Regions from separate parts of the Homo sapiens genome. Here region 1 is linked to region 2. The links are contacts of gene promoters, found by promoter capture Hi-C in human tissues and cell types (Jung and others, 2019). All regions are on one chromosome and are shown on one strand. Each heading gives the region's core, a stretch centred on a gene start or on the middle of the fragment in contact. The rest is flanking DNA. Distances are from core to core; before and after follow the strand shown.

Region 1 (4,582 bases), core at 881-3,380, 170 kb after region 2:
TTGATGAGACAAGGAGGCTATTTGTTCAGTGACTTGGAGACCAAGAAATAGAAACTGGGGCATCCCCAAAGGGAGAGAGTAGGTCCAGCCCTTCTTTGGGGAGACCCAAACTACTGCTAGTGTTAGTGCAGCTGATGGCTAAATGGGATTTTCTCTGAAAACAAAAACAAAAACAAAAAAGCAGCTCAAGACAGCGGGAGAAAGCTGCTTCCAAGCCACTCCCAAGCCCAGCTTCCAGTGTGCCTGTGTGCCTCCCTCCAGGCTAAGCATCTGTCTTAACGCTGGGACCCGCAGCCTGAGTCCACATAGGCCTGAGCCACGGTTTTTTGTTTTTTTTTTAATTGCACATCACTCCTTTATTATACTGATCTGGAAAAAGGATTTAGTACAGTTATGCTCAAATGAACACTGGACCCATGTGGCAGGACCAAGCAACTAGAACATGATTCAAAAAATCAGTGAAAGACACATTTGGACAGGACCAAGAGGCATTTCACTGCCACGAAACAAGGCGGGGAGGGATTCTAAAACACACAGCAGGAAGCACTCCTGCTCCTCAGAGGTCAAGGAGCTTATCCCATATTAGTATGAGGAATGGCTTATTTTCTGACGACCACATGAGGGACTATTTCAACTGCCACGAGAAACCCCAGAAAGGTTATTGTTTTGTATTTTACATATATGTAATATGTATTTTATATATATTATGTATGTAATATATATTTTATATATATATATATATATAAATCTAACACATAAACTAAATTCAGGATTGATCCCAACCTTCTAGAGCCAGCTCCTCTGGGGTCAGGGAGGAAACGGTTGTCACGTCACCAGGCAGGTTACATTCATCTTCCACTGGAATGACTAGAGCCCCAAGGCAGTGGCCTGACTGCAGAAGAGCAGAGGACTGGCTCCTGGGGGCAGACAGGCTGTCTTGCTTCTCCTCATTGGTTATGGCTTAGCACGGTTCCTCCCCACAAGTCCTTACTAAACAAAACACTCGCAAAAACCCAAGTCACTACCTTTAAACTCTCTTGGATAAGGGGAGCTTTCCCACAGCTTGGACTGAGAACGTGTGCCCTAGAAGTGCTATTCTGACTAGATTGTATGAAGGGAGTGGGTGCAGGAGACAAAATGGCTAAAATGAAAATGGGAGCCACTGGTCCCCATCTGCAGCTACAACTCAAGATGTCTACAGATGTGGTCAGTGTGACATGTGCAGGAGGGAGGGGCAGAGGGACGCGATGGGCAGGGAGGGTGCTCCTGGGGACAGTGGCCTGCCCAGGCCTGAGCCACTCTTGCTCAGGCAAACCTCTTTGAGGCCCAACAACCTACCCCTATCCAGGGTGGCCAGGCTTATTTTCCTTATTTTCCTTCTGGGACCAACGTGATCTCTGAGTCACGTAGACTCTTCCGCATTGTGTCAAAGGTCAGTATTCAAACCCCAGGTCCTACCAGCTCTGAGATATTTGGGATCCTTGGGATCAGACCCCTTGCCTTTGTCCAGCTACCTGGGCCAGCCTGATGCCCCTGGCCACCTGACCACTGTTCAGATGCCCCCAGAGCCCATTCCTGTCTCCTTATCTACAAACAGGGACATGATAATACCTGAGTCTCAGTTCTTGTGTGGGGATCAAACGAGCTGATCTCTGAGTAGCCCTCAGAAGGGTGCCTGGCACACCATAAGCTTTATGTGTTAACTATTATTATTATAACTGTACCTGGCTTTAGTATAATCAATGGAGAATCCAGGAAAATGAGAAGAACTTCAGGCCCGAGAGAGGTGCTGTGAAGGGCAGGATGCCTGCTTCTCAGTCCCAAAAGCTCCACCCCAAACAAACGTTGCCCAGAAAGCCACAATTTTGCTGAGCTGGGAAAAAAACTGACCACCCCACCCACTGTCTGTGGCTTCTAAAACTCTTTCAAAACTTCTTGGGGTGAGGAGAAATGAGTTGTTCTAATCTCTCTCCTAACAGTCAGAGAAGCTGAGCTACAAATCTGGACTTTTCCTCCACGTAAAACATAAAGCCTGTGGCTCCCAAGTTGTCACTGATTACCACCCTTACAGCCATCATCCTTCCTGTCCCTTCTCATCCAGTGTCACCTCCATCCCCCACCTCCCCCATCATCAAGTGCTGATCCTGTACCTGCATCTGTTCTCACTCTAGTGGGACCTGAAGCTTGACTACCTCCAGGATGCCGATGCCCCGCTGTCTGTTACCAGGGCAGCGGCACCACCACCACCCACCCCCACCCACCACCACCTGAAGCAGAAAGCAGAACTCAGGAGAAGGCTGAGGTGGGTGCCGAGGGGCTGGAGTCAGGAGGTGGCAGCGAGAACCGTGGAAGCCCTGGCAGAAGAATGGCCCTGCCATGCCCCTTCACCTAGACATGGGGTGGGCTCTGGCTCAGTGGGCCTGGACTTCTGGCTGCCCCAGCTCTTGAAGGCCTGGGAAGGCCATTCACTTATCCTGGGATAGATTCTGAAGCCTGTGTCAGAATCAGGGAAGGATCCCCAGGGTCCTCTGAGATGGGCAGGGCTGGGCTAACTCTCCACCAGGCAGCTCCGGTCCCATGCACGGCTGATTTGCCCAAACGTACCGTCTCCATCTTCTAGGTTATTAGTGAGGGTGGACACTTCCCCTGTACTGTGTTCATGCAGCTTCTCAGGACCTGGGCCACGTAGGAAGTTCCCACTCACTTTCAAGGGCAGCAGCAGTCACCCCAAGGTGACATCGGCTGCTCCTCCATTTCTGATTAGAATGACTTCCCCCTAACAAGCTTTTCCAGAGCTGTTTGGTCAGGCTTCTGGCCATCCTTCTGGGTAGGGTCCCTCTTCAGGACACCCCTGGAGGGCCAGGGATAGGATGTGGCGGCATTTCTTCTTGGCCTCACACTGTGGTGGACATTGACTCTGGCCTCTGCTGCCTTATCTCTGATAGGGTCCCTGCCTATGTTTAAGTGCCAGCCACATGGAAAGGCCTGTACTGGAAGTGAGAGACACAGTGGTGAGCAAGACATAGACCCTGTCCTCTAGGAGCTTACAGTCTACCGCGGGTTGGGGGGTGGGGATGGGGGACAAACAGGAACCTCCAATTCAGTACGACACATCCTACGATCCAGGTAAGTGCCAGGTCTAGAGGGAGCATATGCAAGAGCCTCTGCCTCATCTTGGTGAGAAAAGAGAAGAGAAGGCTCTTTGGAGGCTGTCCCCTCTCAACCTCTCCACGGAGACAGGAAGGAGCAGAGGAGTTTAATGTGGTGTGGTAAGAGGCGTAAGGAGCACTCCAGGCAGAGGATACTGCACATGCAAAAGCTGAGAGCGAAAGGGAAAGAACATGTTTGGGACAGAGAAACTCATTCAATGTGGCTGGAGAGAGGGAGAGGGTGCCAGGAAGAGACGTAATAACTGGCCACACTCATGTCAAAGGCCTGTAGGAAGTACATTCCACTCTTTTCTCTGCTTCTTCAAGTTAAACCCAGTGAGTCTTGAATATCAGGAATTTTTAATTATTGCCACGATTTATTGAAACTGAAGAGTTTCAGACCCCATTCAGATCCCCATTCCAACCTGAATCCACCTTGAGTGTTGTGACAACAGGGCCTCTCTCATTGTTTCATTGAGACGTTAGCTATGCACAGGCCTCTTCTGCAGCACAGCTGAAGTCCCAGCCTGGGTACACACAAAGCCACTGTCCCCCACAGTCCTTCAGGGAGATCCTTAACCCTGAGAAGAATAGGACCATCAGTAGTCGAGCTAGAAGGGAGAGGTAAAGGAGAGACCTGAAAAATTCAGCCTAGCTGAATAGAAAAAAAAAAGGTTTTGTGGGAGAAAATCAAAAGAAAGAACAAATGATTCAATAAGGGCAGATGGAAGGGAGGTTAGTGAACAACTCAGCTGCCATATCACCAGTGCAATCCTTACTTAATTCCTCAGTCTGTCCAGGGTGGTCAGATATGGTTGATGGGCGCAGAGAGAGGTGAGTTGCCCACAGCCGCAGGATCCCCAAACCTGCCTCCACCAGTCCACTCAGCCCACTCAGCCTACTCTGTTCTGGTCAACAAGGTCACTTGCTCATTGCCAGGAATTGTCTAAGGAAGGGCATCAGGCAAAATACACGATGCTCACAAACAACACTCACCACAGACGTGTGTGGAGCACCTCACATGCAGATAGGCACATGCCAGTCCATATCCTGAGTCTGGCTGTCCAAACTCACTGCTGGCCAACATGACACAAGCCTTGCCTTACCCTCAGAGCTATAATTGAAGATAACCCTCTTGGTTCAACGTTTCAGGCCAAATATCAGAATCTGTCTGGAGTTTTCTTCCCCAGGGCCACAAAGTGGTAGGAAACAGCTGTCTCTGTTCTAAGCCTTGAACCCTCACCAAGCTATGATTCCCCTTCCCCAGCCCTACCCATTTGTCATCTCCCTCTTCTTTGTTTTTCTTTGGTAGCCAGGGGGCAAAGACAGAACAGATTTAAACCACAGGGTACTTTCCATAAATGCTGCCCCAGGACAGAGGAGGAGCTAAACTCAGGGTCCCTAGAGGAGCAACTTCTTTCCCTCCTGGTGGT
Region 2 (4,736 bases), core at 1,351-3,850:
AAGCCGGCAGGAACTCCTCTTGAATGTTAAATGATGCTCCCTTGGAGCCTGAATGCAAAGACCTTAAGGAGAAATTTTCAGCCCATCAGCTCCCTGCTCAGTCAGCCTGGCAGTACACCCAGAATCCAAAGGGAGAGAATTCAGGCAAATCAGGGCAATGTTTTTAATGGGCCAAATCAGCAGAGTCCAGGGAAAGAATTCACTTCATTCCAGCAGCTGGCACCAGTTGAGAAGGGTTGCAAGCGAGCAGTCAGCTGGACGTGCAGGAGAGCACCCCCGCCGGCCCAAGCTGAGTGGGCTTTTTCATCTCTGCTCAAGAACTTTGTCTCCAGCAAGAGCCCCATGCCAGCACTTTCTCACATTTCTCTGTGCACTTAGTCTGCTTCAAGGTGACCTTGGGATTTGACAGTGGAGTGCAGGGGTGGGAGGAACTTTTCCTCATAGGCACTTTGCTGTGACATTCTGGGGACACTCTGATGAGTAACTAGTCACCCTAACAACTCACTCCAGCATCCCCACACTGCACCATTAACACCAACACTCTGAGTAAGCCTTGCTCCCCAAGCCAGGTGCCTGAATCACTGCTGTAGTAACCTGTGCCTCTTGTTCCTCTGCCTCACCTCTCTGACTCTCTGCCTTTCTTCATCTGAGCCTTTCCTCTCTCGGGTTCAGATTCTCCCTCCATTCCCCCAAGAAATGCTCAATTTCTCTGCACTTTCTAAGACTTCAATATGCCAGAACAGCCACTCCCTATCCATACTGGCCATCAAGGAAGCTTGGTCCCAAGCCTGGGTGGACACAGTGTCCCTGTACACTGGTGCTCAGCCCCTCTGATGACTGGGACATCCTACACATCTGTACCGTTAGAAGGCCCCAGATGCTGTTTCCATGGAGACCTAGTCAACCAAGAAGCCTCACCCCTTGGACTAGCTTCCTGCCTCCATTCACAACCAAAAAAATCAACCAAGGTTCTCCACAGACATCCAGCTCATAAAGGAGGACCTGAGGCTGTCAGTGATTCCCCATGTGATTCATATTCTTGCCTCTCAGTTCTGAGATGTTGGGATAGTATCAACAAGTGCAGAGCCTCTTCCCTGCCACCTTAGGAAGCCTCATACACTTGACCTCACTTCCCCATCGATCCCACAGCCAAAGCAGATACTGCCCTCCGACCTAGCAGCAAGAGCTCCACCTGCACTTCTAAAGCCACTGCTACCTCTGCCCCCCAGGGACCAAATATCCAGAGTTGCTCTCCTTCCCTAAGGCTGGAATATGCCAAGCCCGCTGGCCACCCCTACACATTAAGCCCCCAAGTTCCACCTTCCTCCCAACCAACAGGGCTGAGGCTGGTGGCTCCCAGGCCCACCCTCATGCTCTCCCACTGCCTCTCCACCCACTAGGGCCCAGGCAGAGCTGGTTTCTGGTAAGATGCACTATCTCATCCATGGTTGGGAGGCACAACTTCCTCTTCCAGGGGTTTTCCACTTAGAAATCCCATAAGGGTCTCCTTTCCACAACCCAGTTGGAAATGACCCCAAGCGGAAGTTTCTCCCAAGAAAATTTATAGTCATAATCATAGCGAATTTCCAGTTCACTGAGATCTCACTTTGCACCAGGTGCTTCTCATACATTATTTCATTTAATCCTTTCCACAGTCCTACACAGGAGCAACCCAGTGGAAGGATTCTTTCTCCTGTGGGCAGAGGAGGATTCTCCCCACACTCCTCAGCTCAGCCCCTCCCTTGGCACTCCTTCCCACCCACCCACTAGCTACCAATTAACCCATCAGCACCAGCATTTTGCACAGTTACTAAACAGGAACATGGTCCTGTTCCTCTGCCAGTCCCATCCCCTGGACCTCTCATAACTGTGGGCCAGGTCCCTTCTGTATTCTTCAATTCTCCTAACACTGCAACAGAGATCCATTCCTCTGACCCCTGTACAGCCCCAGATAGGACGAGGCCCACCTCCTGGTCAAAGGTCCTTTCAGTTTCCTCCTAAGCCTGCCCACCTCCTAAGGCTCTACCCAAAGTAACATCACACCCTAAACAACCTCACCTGTCACCAGGCAGTGGAAGGAGTGACCAAGGGCAGCCAGGCCACTCAGACCCCATGGACACCAGCCCTAGCTTTATTCCTTACAGTGGCCCCAGACAACAAAATCTTGGGGAGATCAAAAGTCAGGCTGGACTAAGGGATATTTGGGGCTGATCCTCCAAGGTGTCAAGAAGGGAATTCCATGAAATCAGACCATCAGCCCTGCAACTCTCTCCACATAGTCCAGTCCATTCCGGGACCAACGCCTGCACCCTCAGACAAGGACAACCCAAAAGTGCTCTGCGGCTTTAGGACAGAGCTCACCCTCCCTTGTCCCACGGCCCTGCCCTCTACCAAGTTCTCCAACTCTCTGCTTCTTTAGGCAAGATCCCGCCCCACCAGCAATCCCATGCCCGCCAGATAGTGACTTACCAGCCCAGGCCAGGCCACACAGCACGGCCAATACCAGGGAGATGCAGGCCCTCATGGTGCCCAGTTGGAGGCCAAAAAGGGAGTGGCTGTTGGACTTTCACTAGAGTCAGATGAATGTCACAGCTCTCAGACGAGCCTTATTCCTCAAGCTGATCCTTTTAAAGACACCAGGACTTGTGGAGCTGGTGTCTCCAGATCCTTTCAGGAAGAAAAAGGGGAGGGAGGGACCCTAGATGGATAGGAGGTGGGGCCCTACAGCTGTTTGAAGCCTGAGGGAAGGTGACTAAGAAGGTAGGTAATGCCAGATGTTGAGAACAGGTAATGCTAGCTGTTTGCAGCTTAAAAAATAGGTCATGCAGGCAGGCACACCAAGATGGGTCCAGTTTGGAGGGTTCTTTGTCCAAATTAGGGACACCCATGGGCTGATCTTTGGGTGATCCCCACCAAACAGACACCTACTTCCAAGTCTCAGACCTGACTTTCCAAGGGGCCACAGGTTGGATTCATCTTCAAATTCCTGGAGCTTAGCATGACACTGGCACACAGTAAGGTGATTGGTCCAAATTTGACAAACAGTAAGTGCCCAAGCAAGGGTTGGGGTCATTGGACAGAGAGATAGAGGATGTGTCGGTCAGAACCAGTGCTATTCTTATGACCACCAAGCCCAGCATAGCTAAATCAGCCACATGTCGAGCGCATGGCTAAATCACTCTAAAATATTATGCAAATGACTCTTACTGAGTCAGCCTCTGGGGTTTAAACGTTTCAGATTCCTTATGAGGCAGGGGAGGGGCAAGAGGCCTCTTAAAGGCAGCCGAAGGCCCACTCTTCTTCCCCTGGGAGCCCAGGGTTTCACTCCCTTCACCCCAACTTACACTCCTCTCCTCAGGAACTCCTCCCCAGTGAGGTTCTTTTGTTTCCAAGTCCAAAAGAAGGGGAGCAGCTCCCCGTGACTGTCCAGTTTTCCCCGATAATAAAGGTAAAATCTGCCAAGTATGATGCCCTTGCCAGAAAGAGCACTGCATGGGGATTCTCAACCCTCTCAGGAAAGAAAACTATCATATAAAAAGGCAAAATTGGTGAACAGTGGAGGCCACTCTATCAGTGATTTTTTTCTGGAGGTTGGGAGTGGAGCACGTCTTCATCCAGTGTGCTTTAACAGGAGAAGTTTCTTCCTCTCGCTGGTCTTCAGCTTTCTCATCTGAAATGATGGGGTTGGATCTGACAATCCCTTCCAGGTTCTCAGACTTTAATCTCGAGTTTTCCTGCCCATGCGCCAGGTTGAACAGTTGCTGGTGGGTTAAAGAGAATCCCCCAGCCTGTTGCTGTGTAGAGAGGAGTCCAAACATAGGGACTCAGGGGTAGAGAGAAGGACAAGCCTAGGGCAAGCAAACTTTGCAAGGGGCTCACACAGGAAGTGCAATGTATGTATATATTTTGAGATGGAATCTCTCTCTCTGTCGCCCAGGCTGGAGTGCAGCAGTGTGATCTCGGCTCACTGCAACCTCCATCTCCCCAGCTCAAGCAATTCTCATGCCTCAGCCTCCCGAGTAGCTGGGATTATAGGCATGCACCACCACACCTGGCTAATTTTTGTATTTTTAGTAGAGACCATGTTGGCCAACCTGATCTCAAACTCTTGACCTCAGGTGATCTGCCCACCTTGGCCTCCCAAAGTGCTGGGATTACAGGTGTGAGCCACTGCATCCAGCCCGGAAGCACAACTAAAGAGTGAGCCTAGCCCTTCTCTCCCAGAAGGGAGCTGGTTAGAATGAGTAAGAGCAGAAATGGCTGCTTCATTTGCATAGATTTCATTTACACAATCCAAAAGCAGGCTGAAGAGTCACTGCCCCTCAGAATCCTCATCCTCCCTGGGTTGGCACCACATAAACGTGTCTCTGACTCCTGTTGTTTAGGGGACAAAGGAGGGTGTCACTGGCTGGCCTGGGAAGCAATGATGCCTCAGAATTTGGGAATGAATGGTCTGTCCCTTCCAAGTGTCCAGCTGGGTGGACCCTAGCTGAAGCCAAAGCTGTCAGAGTGGAGTACAGCCTGGCTAGGTTCTCCTAGTGTCCAGCTGAACTGGCCATGGGATGGTGTTTTGAGGGCAGGAGCTCTCCCCCCATTAATGGAATTTTAGGTCAGGAGCAAGGATTGGAGCTGGGGAAGACAGTTAAGGATGACTCCATAGAGCCAGATGGTTCATCTGAGTACCCAAGTGTTTAAAACTGCATCCTTCAATAAGAATAACAGCCTTAACAACCACC

Evidence for each region. Contacts are between HindIII fragments. The study calls those that stand out against the background at their distance.
Region 1: a contact is called between a fragment that was not itself captured here and the fragment with the promoter of ENDOU in region 2, in 1 of the 25 tissues and cell types used here (spleen).

Annotation. Positions count from the first base shown.
Region 1 is chr12:47,889,653-47,894,234 of GRCh38, forward strand. All of the region lies in intron 1 of VDR (vitamin D receptor), which reads right to left. Among named protein-coding and RNA genes, the nearest start is that of VDR, 13 kb to the right of the region's middle. The HindIII fragment of the contact is 4,335 bases long and covers 1-4,298 here.
Region 2 is chr12:47,722,890-47,727,625 of GRCh38, forward strand. ENDOU (endonuclease, poly(U) specific) reads right to left here and starts at 2,601. Exons shown (of 10, transcript NM_001172439.2): 1 at 2,470-2,601. The coding sequence starts at 2,524. The region is part of intron 3 of RPAP3-DT (RPAP3 divergent transcript); the gene reads left to right. RefSeq lists silencers at 3,116-3,235, 4,201-4,260. The HindIII fragment of the contact is 12,082 bases long and covers 1-4,736 here.